Regions from separate parts of the Homo sapiens genome. Here region 2 is linked to region 1. The links are contacts of gene promoters, found by promoter capture Hi-C in human tissues and cell types (Jung and others, 2019). All regions are on one chromosome and are shown on one strand. The core of a region is centred on a gene start or on the middle of the fragment in contact, and the rest is flanking DNA. Distances in the headings are between cores, read along the strand shown. Region 1 holds the start of MARK2 (microtubule affinity regulating kinase 2). Region 2 holds the start of PLAAT5 (phospholipase A and acyltransferase 5).

What was found. Contacts are between HindIII fragments. The study calls those that stand out against the background at their distance.
Region 2: a fragment that was not itself captured here is called in contact with the fragment with the promoter of MARK2 in region 1 in 2 of the 25 tissues and cell types used here (dorsolateral prefrontal cortex and hippocampus).

What each region holds. Positions count from the first base shown.
Region 1 is chr11:63,835,091-63,843,054 of GRCh38, forward strand. It overlaps MARK2 (microtubule affinity regulating kinase 2), which reads left to right and starts at 4,020. Exons shown (of 19, transcript NM_001039469.3): 1 at 4,020-4,470. The coding sequence starts at 4,417. RefSeq lists enhancers at 2,706-3,694, 3,955-4,104 and a silencer at 4,115-4,354. The HindIII fragment of the contact is 8,965 bases long and covers 1-4,117 here.
Region 2 is chr11:63,484,412-63,492,375 of GRCh38, forward strand. It overlaps PLAAT5 (phospholipase A and acyltransferase 5), which reads right to left and starts at 6,756. Exons shown (of 6, transcript NM_001146729.2): 1 at 6,476-6,756; 2 at 5,832-5,922; 3 at 4,460-4,565. The coding sequence starts at 6,623. It also overlaps the pseudogene LOC124902822. The HindIII fragment of the contact is 8,832 bases long and covers 1-5,857 here.

The DNA.
Region 1 (7,964 bases), core at 2,770-5,269:
AATCGTCTTTAACTCCCCTCTTTCATAACCCCAACCCATCCGAAAGCCTGTTGGCTGTACCTTTCAAATATGTCCCAAATCTGATCACTTCTCACTACTTCCACTGCTGCTGCCTGGCCCCAAGCCACTGGCATCTCTCCCTTGAATTGTTGTAAAAGCCTCCTTGCTAGTGCCCCGGGTCTGCTTCTGTCATGCCCTTTCACTCTGTTCTCAGCCCAGCAGCCAGTTAGATCATGTTACTCCGGCGGCAACTCATCCCACTCCCAGGGAAAACCACAACGGTAGCCCACCAGGCCTGGTTCCCGTCGCCACACACCTACCTCCTCACTCACTCTGCTCCAGGCTCATTGGCCCCTTGCTCTTCAAACAGGCCAGGTATGCTCCTCTGGCTGGGTTCCTCTTCCCCTAGATGTCTGCAGAGCTCATGCCTTCACCTCCTTCAAGTCTTTTTTTTTTCTTAGCCTCCCAAAGTGCTGCGATTACAGGTGTGAGTCACCACGCCCGGTCTCCTTCAAGATTTTACTCAAGTGTCACCTTCTCAGTGAGGGCTCATGAACCCCCTCAGTACTGTAGCTTGTCTTCCACCCTCTCACCCCTGTAATCCTGGCTTAACTGGCTCTGTTTTTTTCTGATATCACTTAATACTGACTCTTTTGTTTGTTGTATGTCTTCCTCAAAATGAAAAGTAAGCTCCCCAAGGGCAGAGTTGTTTTTTTTTTGTTTTGTTTTGTTTTGTTTTGAGACAGAGTTTCTCTCTTGTTGCCCAAGCTGGAGTGCAGTGGCGTGGTGATCTCGGCTCACTGCAACCTCTGCCTCCTGGTTTCAAGCGATTCTCCCGACTCCACCTCCCAAGTAGCTGGGATTACAGACGCCCACCACCGTGCCTGGCTAATTTTTTGTGTGCTTTTTTTAGTAGAGACGGGGTTCCACCATGTTGGCCAGGCTGGTCTCGAACTCCTGACCTCACATGATCCCCTCACCTTGGTCTCCCAAAGTGCTGGGATTACAGGCATGAGCCACCGCGCCTGGCAGGCAGAGATCTTTATCTTGTTCACTGATCTACCTAAAAGCCTAAAACAATGCCTTGCACATAGTAGGTGCTCAGTAGGGATTTGCTGAATGAATAAATGAATTTGCAGATTTAGAGAGGGGGTAAATGTGTGGCAATAATTCATCTTTGAGGAGAACTAGGAGGGTTCATGGATTTGAGTAGGTGAGATTTGAACTGGATCTTGAAGTGGTTCTGGAAGCTGAGGTGGATGATGGGCAATCATCTATCAGCTTGACCAAAGGCATGGAAGTGAGAGAGACTGGCAGCGGGGTAGGAGTTAGGGAGAAGTGTGATCAGTGATAGTTGGAGAGGTTATTGTAAGGCAATGTGAGGCCAGATTGAGCAAAGTTTTAAATGCAGGCTAAAGGCTTTTCCTACAGCCAGGACCAGCTACATAATTTGTGGGGCACAGTGCAAAATGGAAATGCATGGCCCCCTTGGTCAAAAATTTCAAGATAATGGGCCGGGCGTGGTGGCTCACGCCTGTAATCCCAGCACTTTGGGAGGCCGAGGCAGGTGGATCACTTGAGGTTGGGAGTTCTAGACCAAACTGGCCAACATGGTGAAACCCTGTCTTTACTAAAAACACAAAAAATTAGCCGGGTGTGGTGGTGGGCACCTATAATCCCAGCTATTCAGGAGGCTGAGGCATGAGAATCACTTGAACCTGGGAGGTGGAGGTTGCAGTGAGCTGAGATCGCACCACTGCACTCCAGCCTGGGAGATAGAGCGAGATTCAGTCTTAAAAAAAAAAATTTCAAGATGGTGACAGCAGAGCATTAATCCAAGCTCAGGGTCCACCTGAGCACAGGGCTCTGTGTGACTGCATGGGGTCGTGGGCCCAAGAAGCCAGCCCTGCCTATAACCAGTGAGGGAGCTGGTGATAGCTTTCTAGCAGAGCAGAGATGTTATTGGAGCTGGACTTTGGGAAGATTATTCTGACATGTCTGGTGCAGTAGGTTGGAGGGAGTCTAGGCGGGGAGACAAGCTCAGCAGCCTTGTGCAAAGCTAGCAAGGAAGAGAAAGGATAGGTAGGGTAGGGGTTGGGGATGAAGGTCAAAGGGCAGGGGTGAGGCAGGGGTTAGAGCTAGAGTGAGAAGCTTGGAGAAGATGGAGTCTATTTAGACGAGAGTGTGGACCAGGGAGAGACTGCTGGAACACCAACCACCAACTGCTTCCTCTCTCTTTTCCCTGCTTTCCAGACCCTGGCATTAGAGGTGATACCAGGCACAGGAATCAGCAACGTGTCTCCCTTTGGCCACCAGAGGGCAGATGATTCTCAAGGATCGAATTTGGGTTGGGGAGTGAGGTGTTCTCTGTCCTCCTCTTCTCTCTTTCCCTCACCTTCATGGGTGTGCCTTCACCTTCTTCCTCAACGGTTGGGTGCCTGAATAGAGCTGGTATGGGGCATGGGGAGCAGTGCTGAAGTCCCAGGATTTACTAAGAGTGTAGTGATACCTGTTGCCTTAGGAAGTACTTTCATACCCTGGTAATTACATCTGCTCAGATGCCTATTTCTCTGATTGATGGGATGAAGGCTGGCTCAAGATGCTGTAGCTGGGAGTTGGAGGTCAAGTAGCAGGGGTCCAATCAGCAGTTTTCCCAATAACTCCTGGAGCCTCTCTGCTCCTGTACCTTTGGGAACCTGTTGCCTGAGTCTGGTTTCTGACTCCTGCGGGGCCTCTGCCTCCTGCCCACCTTAAGCCACTGATGGGAGGGTGTGGTTCCAACGTGTTCCAGGTACTATGGGTGAGGACAGCTTGGCGCTGGGGAAATCAGCCCAGGATACTCCCTGTCCTTGGTAACGCAGTGTAAGGGGAAGTGAGGAATGGACTGCAGTTGCCATACAGACTTCCTGTTAGTCAAGGGCTCTCCAAAGCTGAGAAGGACCTCCGAGTTCATGAATCCAATGGCTTCACTTTACTGATGGGGAAAATGAGGCCCAGAGGAGGAAAGAAAAGAAACTTTAAATGCCTTATCTTGCAGAGGCATTTTAAAAGGTAACTGGAATTCAGAAATGTCATTTTGAATGTCAACGCAGGAGCAAAGGCAAAGGAAAGAGGAGCCTAAACTCAGTGATGTTATGTGATTTTTCCAAGATCACGCAGCATTGGCACTTGGCAGAGCTGGGGCTGAAATGCAGGGCCCTGGACGCTCCCGCATCCGGTGCAGAGGACGCTGCCCTGGGCCTGCCTGGGGCCTTGCCGAGCCCTGCGGACTAGATGCGGGAATGCACGGATGAATCCACAGAAGCCAAGATAGACGGTGGCAGACAGGCAATAGACTGATGCTGCATTTGACAGGTATATTGATAGGCTAGATGATAAAAAGAAGATGAATTTTATGAGCTGACCGACAGATGGACAGAAATGCAGACAGGAAGCTGCTATAGAACCAGAGGATGCCAATCACAGGGACGGCTAACAATCTTGTTTTGTATTTAGTCAAATCACAAGCACAGACAGGTGACCCACGCTTCCTGTTCAAGGTTTGAAAATGCCCGAAAACTGACGGAAAGACACGAAGCGAATCAGACTCCGAGAGCCACCCGGGGAAACGACCGGGTGCTCGGAGGGCCTCGGGTGTTGCCGGAAATGGCCGACGACCGCCCTCGGCAGGGCTGTGGGAGGGGGCGTGGCCGGCTCAGCACGCGGAGCAGCTTCGGGTATTTCCGGAAACTGCCGAAAGCCCCCTTGAAGTGGGCGGGGAAAGGCCGGTGGGCGTGGCTGGATGGCCGTGGACGGGGGCGGGGGGTAGGCACCCGGGGTCGCTTCGTGGATTTCCGTAAACAGAGCCGAAGCTTCGTCTTCGGAATCGAGGAGGAGAGCGCGTCCCCGGGGTTTACCTTCTTCGGCTGTTTCCGGAATTCACCCGTAGTCTGTGGCCGGGAGGAGAAGGCGCGCCCCACCTCCCGTTTCTAGCCGCTTCGGATGTTTCCGGCTGCTGCCGGCGAAAAGAGCCGAGGGCCGGCGGTGGTGGCGGCCATGTTGGGAGCAGCAGGTCCGGCGGCGGCTGCCTGTGTGCCGGGCGCGGAGCAGTGCCGCTGAGGGCAGGGGAGGAGCGAGGCAGGCGGCCGGCTGCGGCGGCAGAGAGTAGGCGGAGCGGCGCGGCCCGGCCGAAAGGCGGCACAGCCCAGCCGGGGGTCGGGGGGGTGCGGTCCGGAGCCGCTCGGAGCCGGCGCGGCCTAGCCCGAGCGGCGCATCCCCGGGCTGGCGTGAGCGGCTGCCCGGCCTCCCCGCACCCCCGGCCGGGGCCCATGCGGCGGGTGCTCCTGCTGTGAGAAGCCCCGCCCGGCCGGGCTCCGCGCCTTCCCTTCCCTCCCTTCCTCCAAGCTTCTCGGTTCCCTCCCCCGAGATACCGGCGCCATGTCCAGCGCTCGGACCCCCCTACCCACGCTGAACGAGAGGGACACGGAGCAGGTAAGGAGCCCCGAGGGCTCCCCGAATTCTCTGGCTGGGCCCTTTGCACCTTGCGGAGCCTCCTCCCTCTTCTGCTCTCCTCGTGCCCCTGCTGCCATCCTGCAAGCCTCGGCTGCCCTGTCATCCGGCTCCTGGCTCCGGCTCCGCACATCCCGCTTCCGAGTCCTGACCTGGGACCCACCTCGTCCTGACTCCAAGCTGCACACTTGTCTTTCTGCCAACCCCCGTCTCCCCTCACCGCCCTCCTGCGCTCTTCCGTGTCACCTCCCCAGCTTCCCTTTCTCTTCCCTTTTTCTCTCAGGGGCCTTTCTGGTCTTCCTCCACCCACGCTTAAAGCAGCCACCCTCCCGCTCCTCGAATAGCAGCACCCCGCGATTTGCCACAGATCGTTGTCCACCTCTCCCTTCGTCTCTCCTGCCTCGCTTCCCCTCCGCCCGCACCGGTTCTGCCAGTCTCTGGGTTATCACCCTCAGGGTCCTTGCCCTGGACTGCGCTCTCGATCCCTGGCCCCTTGCAGTTCCCCCAGCTTTTTCTACCCTGCTTCTTCGTTTTCCAAATTGTGCTCTCCCTCTTGCTTGCAACCCACCAGCTCCACCCTCATCACCTTTCCAAATCCTTCGCCTACTCTTTGCTCATCACTTTCCCTTCTTTGCTCCAGGAGCTCCCTGGATCCTGGCGCTGGCATTTGTCGCTTCCGTGTTTCCCCACAGCTGTCATGCGCATAGTTTTCCCACAGGTTGCGTTTGGGGTTCCAATCATCACTCCCTTCAGAGTCTTTGGATCCCTCTTGTTCTCTTCCCCTCGGGTTTGGCTTTTAGGTCCCTGGGCCTCTTGTTTCTCTCTGTGAGTGTTCTACCAGCCTTCTACTGGGCTCTTTCTCCCAACCCAAAGACACTTGGCCCCACCGTATTAACACAACCTGTTGCTCAGTCCTTTCCCAGACCTCGCTGCATCACAGTTTTTGCCTTTCTGTCTTCGTACGCTGGAACACAAACCATGATGACTTTCTGTGTCTTCACTCCCGTGCCTGGCACTTAGAGTATTTTCTTTCTTGCTTGTTGCCTTCCTGTTTCTCCACCCTCACCCCATCTTCCTTACTGTGCCTTTTAATCAGCGTTGCCTTTCATCTCCGCATTAGTCTCCTGCCTTCTTCATGTCCTGTGTATCCCCACACCGTGCTTGGATCCATTCTGTTCCTATTGGCTAAGTCTCTGTAATGCCCAGGAAGTCCAGGTGTTTTGCATGCTAGTTTCTTGAGCTACACCTCAGCCTCACGACTCTACACGGTCCCCCTCATCCTGGCAGTCACTGCTATGTTTTTCACCCAAGTCTTAGCCTTTCTGTGTCATCTCACTTTTGATCCCAGAGACGTCCACTTTCCACACCTCCCCTTTCTTTCACCATCTCTAGCGTCCTTTGCTGACTGCTCTGTGCAGAGTCCCCTGCCTGTCATACCTTTCTTGGTGGAGAACTTTACTAGGCCAAAAAAACTTGACTTGAAAAAGAAGTGCTTCTGCCCCGGGGCTGCTGTGCTTTTTGCCTTCTTTCCCCTCCTTCCATCCTTTATGTTTCCCTCTTACTCCCTTCTTTCTTTGTAGCCCGGTAGAGCAGTTGTTGTATTCTCTTGCATGTGAACATTCTTCTTTGAAAAATCTTACCTCCTTTCTTTTACTGTGTTTTTCTATTTTGTTACCCCCTGGCCCTCTGTCACCTGGGCAGTTAGGAACTAAAGAGAAGTTCTAGGCAGAGTTTTTCTCTGCAGGGTTGACCCTTTTATTACTTGTGGATTATTTGCTTCTGGGGGTGAAATAGGGGTTGAGAGGGAGGGATGGTTGATTTCCATTTCATCACTGGGTTTGGCAGCTGGTTCTGCATGGGACAGGGGTCTTTGGAGACAGAGGAGCATGTTCTGTGTCTCGCAGTCTTTCTCTCCCTTGCCTACCGGCTGTTTCTCTCTCCTTACTGGGAATTGCTTTCTCTGGGCCCTCTTGAGGTTGCTTATTCCACCCATTTTCCTCTCACAACCTTTGTTTTAGCAGGTAAACCCTGCTTAACCAGAGAACTTTCCCAGACTGTTGATCGTGAGCTGGTAGGAGGAGGCCAAGTGACTGACTGGCACCCTCAGGCATTTGGGGAGTGGCGATGGAGTGCCTACTCTCAGTGAGGCTGGTGGGGGGCATTGTGTTCAGCAGAGCAGAGTAACAGACTGCCTCAGTGTGGTTTCTTTGTGCTGCTTACTACATGTAAATGTATTATTGCCATGGTATTTTTCCTGTGATGTGTGTGTTGATTTCCTTTCTTCCTTACATGCCTAGCATACTGCTGAGCATATAGTAGGAATTCCACCGTAGTGTGCATCCACTGATTCCATGATAGCAGCAATCAGTGACCATTTGGGAATGTAAGTAAGCTCTTTGCTCTTTGATAACTTTGCCCAGAGCAGTAGCTGCATACATTGTCATCCTGTTAGGATTATTAATTACCCATCCTATTTCTACTCTTTATGGACTTAGATTCTCCTTAGCCCCTTCATACCTTCTACTGTTGTTCTCAGGGTAGCCAGTCACTGTATCGATTTAATATTAAGTCTCATTCCAGTAAAAGCAGGGACTTTGGAAAACCTTGGATGCACCTATTCCAGACAGATTCCTGTATTCTTTTTTTTTTTTTTTTTTGAGATAGAGTCTCGTTCTGTCGCCAGGCTGGAGTGCAGTGGCACAATCTTGGCTCACTGCAATCTCCGCCTCCTGGGTTCAAGCGATTCCCCTGCCTCAGCCTCCTGAGTAGCTGGGACTACAGGCACACACCGCCACGCCCGGCTAATTTTTTGGATTTTAGTAGAGACAGCGTTTCACCATGTTGTCCAGGATGGTCTCAGTCTCCTGTCCTCGTGATCCGGCCTCCCAAAGTGCTGGGATTACAGGTGTGAGCCACTGCGCCGGGCCTGATTCCTGTATTCTTTAAAACGGGAAAAAAGACAAGCAGCAGCTCCTCAGGTCACAAGGCCAGGTATATCAAACACTGGCCTCCGAGAATAGATCATGCCACCAAGTGAAAGAAACCTCTTCTTGGTCCTGTTGTGATTTTAGATAAAGTAGTCATGGAAGCTTGGTCATTACTATAGTCTTAATGTTATTTTTTTTAAAAAGGGGATTTAGTTGGGCTGATTTCCTCCCCTAAAGGTCCTCTGTCACCTTATTTAAATTTAAAACTGGTTTTACCAGAAAATAGGTAAACAAACACCACTGGTTGTCTCCAGTCTCTTTTCTTGCTCTTCCTCTCCCTCTTCTTTAAAAATGTGGCTGATGAGAACCTGTTTCCAGGAGCCCTTTAATCACTCTGAAACACACAGACACTGAAAATGTTGAAGCATAAAAATAAACCTTGCGTTACAGGGAGATTGCCTGTGTGCTGTCCACTTCGCTTATAACAGTGAAAGTAGGAGATTAAAAAAAAAAAAAAGTTAAGCCCTGTCTTTAAGATGGTTTTTGTGA
Region 2 (7,964 bases), core at 192-2,691, 350 kb before region 1:
GAATCAAACAGCATATCAAAAAGATAATCCACCATGATCAAGTGGGTTTTATAGCAGGGATGCAGGGATGGTTTAATATATGCAAGTCAATAAATGTGATATATCACATAAACAGAATTAAAAACAAAAATCACATGATTATCTCAATAGACACAGAAATAGCATTTGACAAGATCCAGCATCCCTTTATGATTAAAAACCTCAACAAAATCAGCATAAAAGGGACAAACCTCAAGGCAATAAAAGCCATCTACGACAAACCCACAGCCAACATTATAGTGATTGGGGAAAAGTTGAAAGCATTCCCCCAGATAACTGGAAAAAGACGAGGATGCCCACTTTCACCACATTTATTCGACATAGTGCTAGAAGTCCTAGCCAGAGCAATCAGACAAGAGAAAGAAATAAAGGGCATCCAAATCAGTAAAAAGGAAGTCAAACTGTTGCTGTTTGCTGATATGATCATAGACCTGGAAAACCCTAAAGCCTAATCCAAAAAGTCCTAGAACTGGTAAATCAATTTAGCAAAGTTTCAGGATACAAAATTATTGTACACAAATCAGTAGCCCTGCTGTACACCAACAATGACCAAGCTGAGAATCAAATCAAGAACTCAACCCCTTCTAAAACAGCTGTAAAAAAAAAAAAATACTTAGGAATATACCTAACCAAAGACATGAAAGATCTCTACAAGGAAAACAAAACACTGCTGAAAGAAATCACAGATGACACAAACAAATGGAAACACATCTCATGCTCATGGATGGGTAGAATCAATATTGTGAAAATGATCATACTGCCAAAAGCAATCTACAAATTTAGTGTAATTCCCATCAAAATACCTATTCACAGAACTAGAATGAAACAATCCTAAAATTAGTATGGAACCAAAAAAGAGCCCACATAGCCAAAGCAAGACTAAGCAAAAAGAACAAATCTTGAGGCATCACATTACCTGACTTTGAACTATACTGCAAGGCTATAGTTACCAAAACAGCATGGTACTGGTATAAAAACAGGCATGTAGACCAATGTAACAGAATAGGGAACCCAGAAATAAAACAAAATACAGCCAACTGTCTTCAACAAAGCAAACAAAAACATAAAGTAGAAAAGGACATCCTATTCAACAAAAAATGCTGGGATAATTGGCAAGCCACATGTAGAAGAATAAAGCTGGATCCTCAACTCTCACCTTCTACAAAAATCAACTCAAGATGCATCAAAGATTTAAATCTAAGATATGAAACCATAAAAATTCTAGAAGATAACATCAGAAAAACCCTTCTAGACATTGGCTTAGGAAAAGAGTTCATGATCAAGAACCCAAAAGCAAATGCAACATAAACAAAGATAAATAGATGGGACCTAATTAAACCAAAAAGCTTCTGCACAGCAAAAGAAACAATAAGCAGAGTAAACGGACAACCCACAGAGTGGGAGAGAATTTGTACAAACTATGCATTCAACAAAGGACTAATATCCAAAATCTGCAAGGAAATCAAGCAAATAAATCAGCAAGGAAAAAAACAATCCCATCAAAAAGTGGGCAAAGGACATGAACAGGCAATTCTCAAAAGAAGATATACAAATGGCCAACAAACATATTAAAAAACTGCTCAACGTCACTAATTATCAGAGAAATGCAAATCAAAACCACGATGCAATAATACCACCTTACTCCTCCAAAATGGCCATAACTTAAAAATAAAAAAAATAATATGTGTTGGCATAGATGTGGTGAAAAGGGAACACTTTTACACTGCTGGTGGGGATGTAAACTGATACAATCACTATGGAAAACACCATGGAGACTCCTTAAAGAACTAGAAGTAGCACAACAATTTGATCCAGCAATCCCACTACTGGGTATCTAACCAGAGGAAAAGAAGTCATTGTATGAAAAAGGCACTTGCACATGCATGTTTATAGCAGCACAATTCACAACTGCAAAAATATGGAACCAGCCTAAATGACCATCAACCAATGAGTGGACAAAGAAAATGTGGTATATATATATATGCACACACACACACATACACACACACCACGGAATACTACTCAGCCGTAAAAAGGAATGAAACAATGACATTCACAGCAACCTGGATAGAGCTGGAGACCATTATTCTAAGTGAAGTAACTCAGGAATGGAAAACAAAAAAATCATATGCTCTCACTTATAAGTGGGGGCTAGCTATGAGGGCACAAAGGCATAAGAATGATGTAATCAACTTTAGGGACTCAGAAGGGAAGGGTGGGAGTGGGGTGAGGGATAAAAGACTACACATTGAGTATAGTGTACACTGCTCAGGTGATGGATGCACTAAAATCTCAGAAATCACCACGAAGGAACTTTTGCATGCAACCAAACACCACCTGTTCCCCCAAAACTATTGAAATAAAAATACAGATAAAAATGTATCAAATATGTAAATGTAAAAAACAAAACTATAAAATACCTAGAAGAAAACAGGAGAAAATCTTTGTGACACTGGATTAGGCAAAGGTCTCTTAGATACACCACCAAAGGCACTATTCATAGAGATTTATATGAAATCATGTTGTATGTCCACTTCTTTGGCGGTCTCCTTCATATAACTATTTTGAGTGACATCCGTGTTGTTGCTTTTTATCAACAGTTCATTCCTTTTTATTACTGAGCAGTATTTCATTACATTTCCGTTTTATAAAAGGAAAAGCTGACACATTGGACTTCATCAAAATTTAAGAACCTGTTCTGAAGAGACAAGCCACAGATGGAGAGAAAATATTATAAAGTATATATCTGATGACGTACTTGTATACAGAACTTCTGAAGAACTCTCAAAACATACAAACCAATAGGAAAAAATGGGCAAAAGATTTGAACACTTCACCAAAGATTATATATATGGATGGCAAATATACGCATGAAAAGACGTTCAACATTATTAGTCATTAGGAAAATGCAAATGAAAACCACAATGAGATACCTACACATCTATTAAAATAGCTAAAATTTAGAAGATTTTGACCATGCCAAATGCTGATGAACTGGAACTCTTATAAACTGCTGGTAGGAATGTAAAATGATACAACCACTGTGGAAAACAGTAAGTTAAGGTTAGAGCTCTTTTAGAATTTGTCTGGCAGGCTTGGAAAGCCCCAAAAAAGAAAAAAAAAATGTTAAGGAAAACAGTAAATTAAATATACATCTACCACATGACCTAGCCATTTCATTCCTACATATTCACCCAAGAGGAAAAAATATACAGTCTGCACAAAGACTCGTACATAAATGTTCAAGCAGATTTGTGATAGTCAAAAACTAGTAACAACTCAAATGCTCAATCAACAGGTGAACACATAAACAAGAGTGGTATATCCATACAATGAAATACTGCTCAGTAATAAAAAGGAATGAACTGTTGATAAAAAGCAACAACATGGATGTCAGTCAAAATAGTTATATGGGCTGGCTGCAGTGGCTCATGCCTGTAATCCCAACACTTTGGGAAGCCGAGGCGGGAGGATCATGAGGTCGGGAGATCGAGACCATCCTGGCTAACACAGTGAAACCCCGTCTCTACCAAAAATACAAAAAATTAGCCGGGCATGGTGGCAGGTGCCTCTAGTCCCAGCTACTCGGGAGGCTGAGGCAGGAGAATGGCGTGAGCCCAAGAGGCAGAGCTTGCAGTGAGCCAAGATCACGCCACTGCACTCCAGCCTGGGCGACAGAGCGAGACTCCATCTCGAAAAAAATATATATAGTTATATGAAGGAGACAGACAAAGAAGTGCACATACAATATGATTTCATATAAATCTCTAAAAATGTGAACACATCTATGGTGACAAAAAGCATATCAGTTGTTGCCTGGGGATGGGAGTGGTATGGGAAGAGAGAGGGATTACAAAAGGCACAAAGAAACTTTTGTAAATGACAGAGATTATTCATTATCTTGATTGTGGTGAAGATTTGACAGGATATATATATAGATGTCAAAATGTATCAAACTATACACTTCACTGGCATATATATATGCCAAATTTATCAAATTGTATATTTTAGATATGTGGAGTTTACTATATGTCAATTACACCTCAATAAAACTGCTTTAAAACAAAGCATAACCAACATCCCAAATCAGGATATTTATTAGACCATCTAAACCAAGTTTGTCCAACCCGCAGCCCACAGGCCACATACAGCCCAGGACAGCTTTGAATGTGGCCCAACACAAATTTGTAAACTTTATTAAAACATTATGAGACTTTTTTGTGGGTTTTTTTTTTTTTTAAGCTCAACAGCTATCGTCAGTGTTAGTGTATTTTATGTGTGGCCCAAGACGTTTCTTCTTCCAGTGTGGCCCAGGGAAGCCTAAAGATTGGACACCCCTAGAAACAAAGTAAAATACAATATGTAGAGAAGTTGCCAGGAGGTTAAAGATAGTCACTTTGAGAATTCTTGTTACACCTACCTCAGCTGCTTGCTTTATTAACTTGCCTTCATTCTCAGGCTTTGGAATTGAACTCCAGTCTGCTTTCTGGCTGGGTGTGGTCTCCAAGCTAACTACAGCCTTCTCCCTAAATGATTTTGCAATCACAAAGTTAACAAATATCACTATTTCATAATTATTGGAAAATCTGTATTACAGATTTGTGATTTTTAAGATGGCTTTTGGTTTGGAGACTGTAGGGAACATTTCCCCCCGTTTGTTTCTGTGAACCCATTAGCTTTCATACAAAAGAATTGCTGTTTGCTGGTTTTCTGACAATTGTTCAAATGCTAATGATAGCAAGAAGCAGTTTTGGGGGTTTTTATTTTTTAATTTGCTAATAATGTCTTTTTAATGTTTATCAAAGTGATACTTGCACATGGTTTCCAGTACATAAGAATTTATAATGAAATGCAAGGAGCCTTCCTCCTTTCCCTTTTCATCCCAGCCCTACTGCCCAGAGGCAAACCCCTTGAACTCTTTCTTCCAATAATTAGCCCCAGATTTCTAAGAAAGCTTGATAAGCCACAACACTGCAACTGCAAGTAATATGAATGAAATCAGTATATTTCTCCCTTGAAACAAAATGTTACAGGAGAGGACAGAAATGAAAGGCAAGAATATGCTTTCAAGCATATTAAATTAAGGTAGTATAGTAGAGTAAAATACTTCGAAGCCAAAAGATCTAGGTTTGAATCCTAGCTTTCATGATTGCTGTCCCACCTTGAGCTAGTAAATTAATGTCTGACTCTCAGCTTGATTATCTTTAAAAATAGAGATGAAAATGTGTCTCACAGTGGTCAAGAAGGTGAAAGGACACAGCACATGTAAACATCTGGTATACCACCAACTCAGAAATGACTTTTTCTTTACCTTTTCCCATGCTTTAAACTCTTCTCCAGAAAAAAATAGTGTGTGGGGCAGAGGGGACACCCCTCATTTTCAGTAGAGCTCCTCTCCAAAATTTCAGCCCCTCGGAATTTTTTAAAGCAGCAATCATCATGTTGTTAATGAAAGTGAATTCAGGAAATCTGCCAAAGGCCGACTCATTGTTCACTGATTAGTGAGACCAAGGACAATACTGTAAGCCTCCTGCTAAAGCCATTCATTTCTCTGGGGTCTAGAGAATGGCCTTGTGGCTAGAAACAGCTGCAACGCATGCCTGTGGCCAGCAGGTCCCAAGCCCAGTACCATCTGTTATCACCCAGGATCACACCAGCCTTCCCCTTGCTGGGTACCGGCTGGCTGGTTCACACAAAAACCACCTCTGGGTTTGTTTTACAGAACTGCATTCCAAGTCAATTCTCCAAAAGATTTCTTCCACCCAAAGACCCCAACCTTACAATCTTCTTACCCTTGCTGGATGCTTCTGCCCTGTTCTAATGTGCCCGGCGGAGGCTGCTTGGCTGGGAGCTGGACCAACGCTGCGAATCCCACGGATTCTTCTAATTCAAGGGGGGAAATGCTATTTAGACCTGTGAAAGGAGAGTTCGAGCAAGCACCTTGACCGCTACGGAGAGTGGGCTCAGAGCTCTAGTCTAGCATCGTGCCTGGCCCCTGGTTAGGCCTCAGAAAATCTTGGGATGAATGGAGAGGGTTGTGGAACTAGGTGCTGGAGCGGGTTCAGTTCCTCTGCCAAAGAGAGACTTTGGGATTCCTGGGAACGGAATCGGGGAGAGGATGAAGAAGGGCGCCTCGCCTCTATCCTAAGCCCGATGGGAGGAACCTCTGCCGAGCCAGAGCCGGTCTTAACACCACCCTCCGGAGCTGCCACCACTGCCTCACTTCCATATGAGATATAGCGGGAAGGAGGGAGTGGCTGCCTGGCTCGCTTTGATTAGCTTTATAACAAGCGGTCGTTCTGAAATACTCGCTCATGATGGCTAACAGACAACACAATCGCCAAATGTCTTAAGAAAAGGAGCTTTGAGGGTAACCGCCCGCTGGGACCTGAAGGACAATTGCGGATTGTCCTTCAGCCGCATTCTTGGGGCTGACCTGAGTGGGGCACAGCTGAACGTCTGAGCGCAGGCGGCTGGTCCTTGGGCCCGGTACTGGCGGTTCGCGAGGCGGGTTTGGGGAGGGGTGGGGGAATCCTAGGGAGGCGGAGCGCGTACTCCCCCTCGGCGCCCGGGCTCAGGCCCATCCCGCCTCTGCGGCCTCGCCGGCCCCCAGGCCTTGCAGGGGACTACGCCCCTGGCGAGTTCCCAGTCGGCGCGGCCCCTGGTCGGCGGAGCCGCGGAAGCTTGGGCACTGGGGGCGGCTCGGGGAGGAACCGCGGAGGGGAAAGCGCCGCGGGCTGCAAACGGCAGAGGCGCGCGGGGTGGCGACAGTGGCGCGGGCGCAGTGAGCGCGTCCGAGAACAGAATGGGACGAAACGGGGCGCTTAGAGGCCCGGGAATCTGTGGGTCTTTTAGGCGGAGAGGGGCGAAGGAGGTTATTCGTTTTGGGGAAGGTCATGGAAACAGCAAAGGCTCAGAGGTGGTGCCTAAAGTGGCTGGAGAAGCTGAACGGTTTGGAACAGAGGCGTGACTTGGAGGGGTAAATGGAGACCAGATTAGGAAGCCTTGGGAGGCACAATCAGGGGTTAAAATCTTGAACAATTCAGAGTTGTTTTATTTTTAAAAATATATAGAAAATGAAATCTACACTTACGTAATAGATAACTTATGAAAAAGTACATGGAATACACATGTTGCAGTCTTGCCAATGTACCTTAATGTAGCAGTTTCTCCTTGTCTGGACTGATACCCGGGATTCTTTGTCCTACTCCAAGAAAATTAAGGAACGGGACATAAGGTGAGGTGGGAGCGAAAGTTTAATAAGCGAAAGAAGAAAGCTCTCCACAGTGAGCTGAGTATGCAAGTGGATTGCCCTGTTACAGCTGAATTCAAAAGCTTTTGCAAGAAAATCTCTTATCTCTGTAGTAGTTTGAGTAACTTCTCTTATCAGTAAAGCTGTCTTACGCAGCTGTGGTTATGTATCTATGCAAGCACAAAGCACCGCCTTTTTTGTTTGCATAACTGTGGGTTTGTTTTAGGTAAGCCCCCCTCCTCCCTGTGAAAGTTCCCACCATGTATATGCCTGAAAAGGGGAGAAAACTTTCCTGGGAGCTCCCTAATTATACAAAGAACAAAAGGCTTCTGTGCTGGACCCTGTCTGCTTATCTGTGTGCAGGTGGAGCCTGAGTTTTTTACCAGGTTGTTTTATTTTTGCCTGTTGCTGTGACTTTTCAGGCAGGCCGCTTCTGCATTGAGTCTTCCCCAACTGATTTTCTCTTTCCTTCTCTCTCGCACACAGTTAGGAAACATAATGTAATTACTACCCATGACAAAACCATCCTACGTAAGAAATGGAACATTCCTAGTACAGATGCTCCCCACCTATGGATTCCTTCCTTATCCCTTCTCCCTCTGCACGCCCAACGTCTATCCTGACCTTTGTGTCTGTCATACCCTCACTTTTTAAAATAGTTTTTTAAATCGCT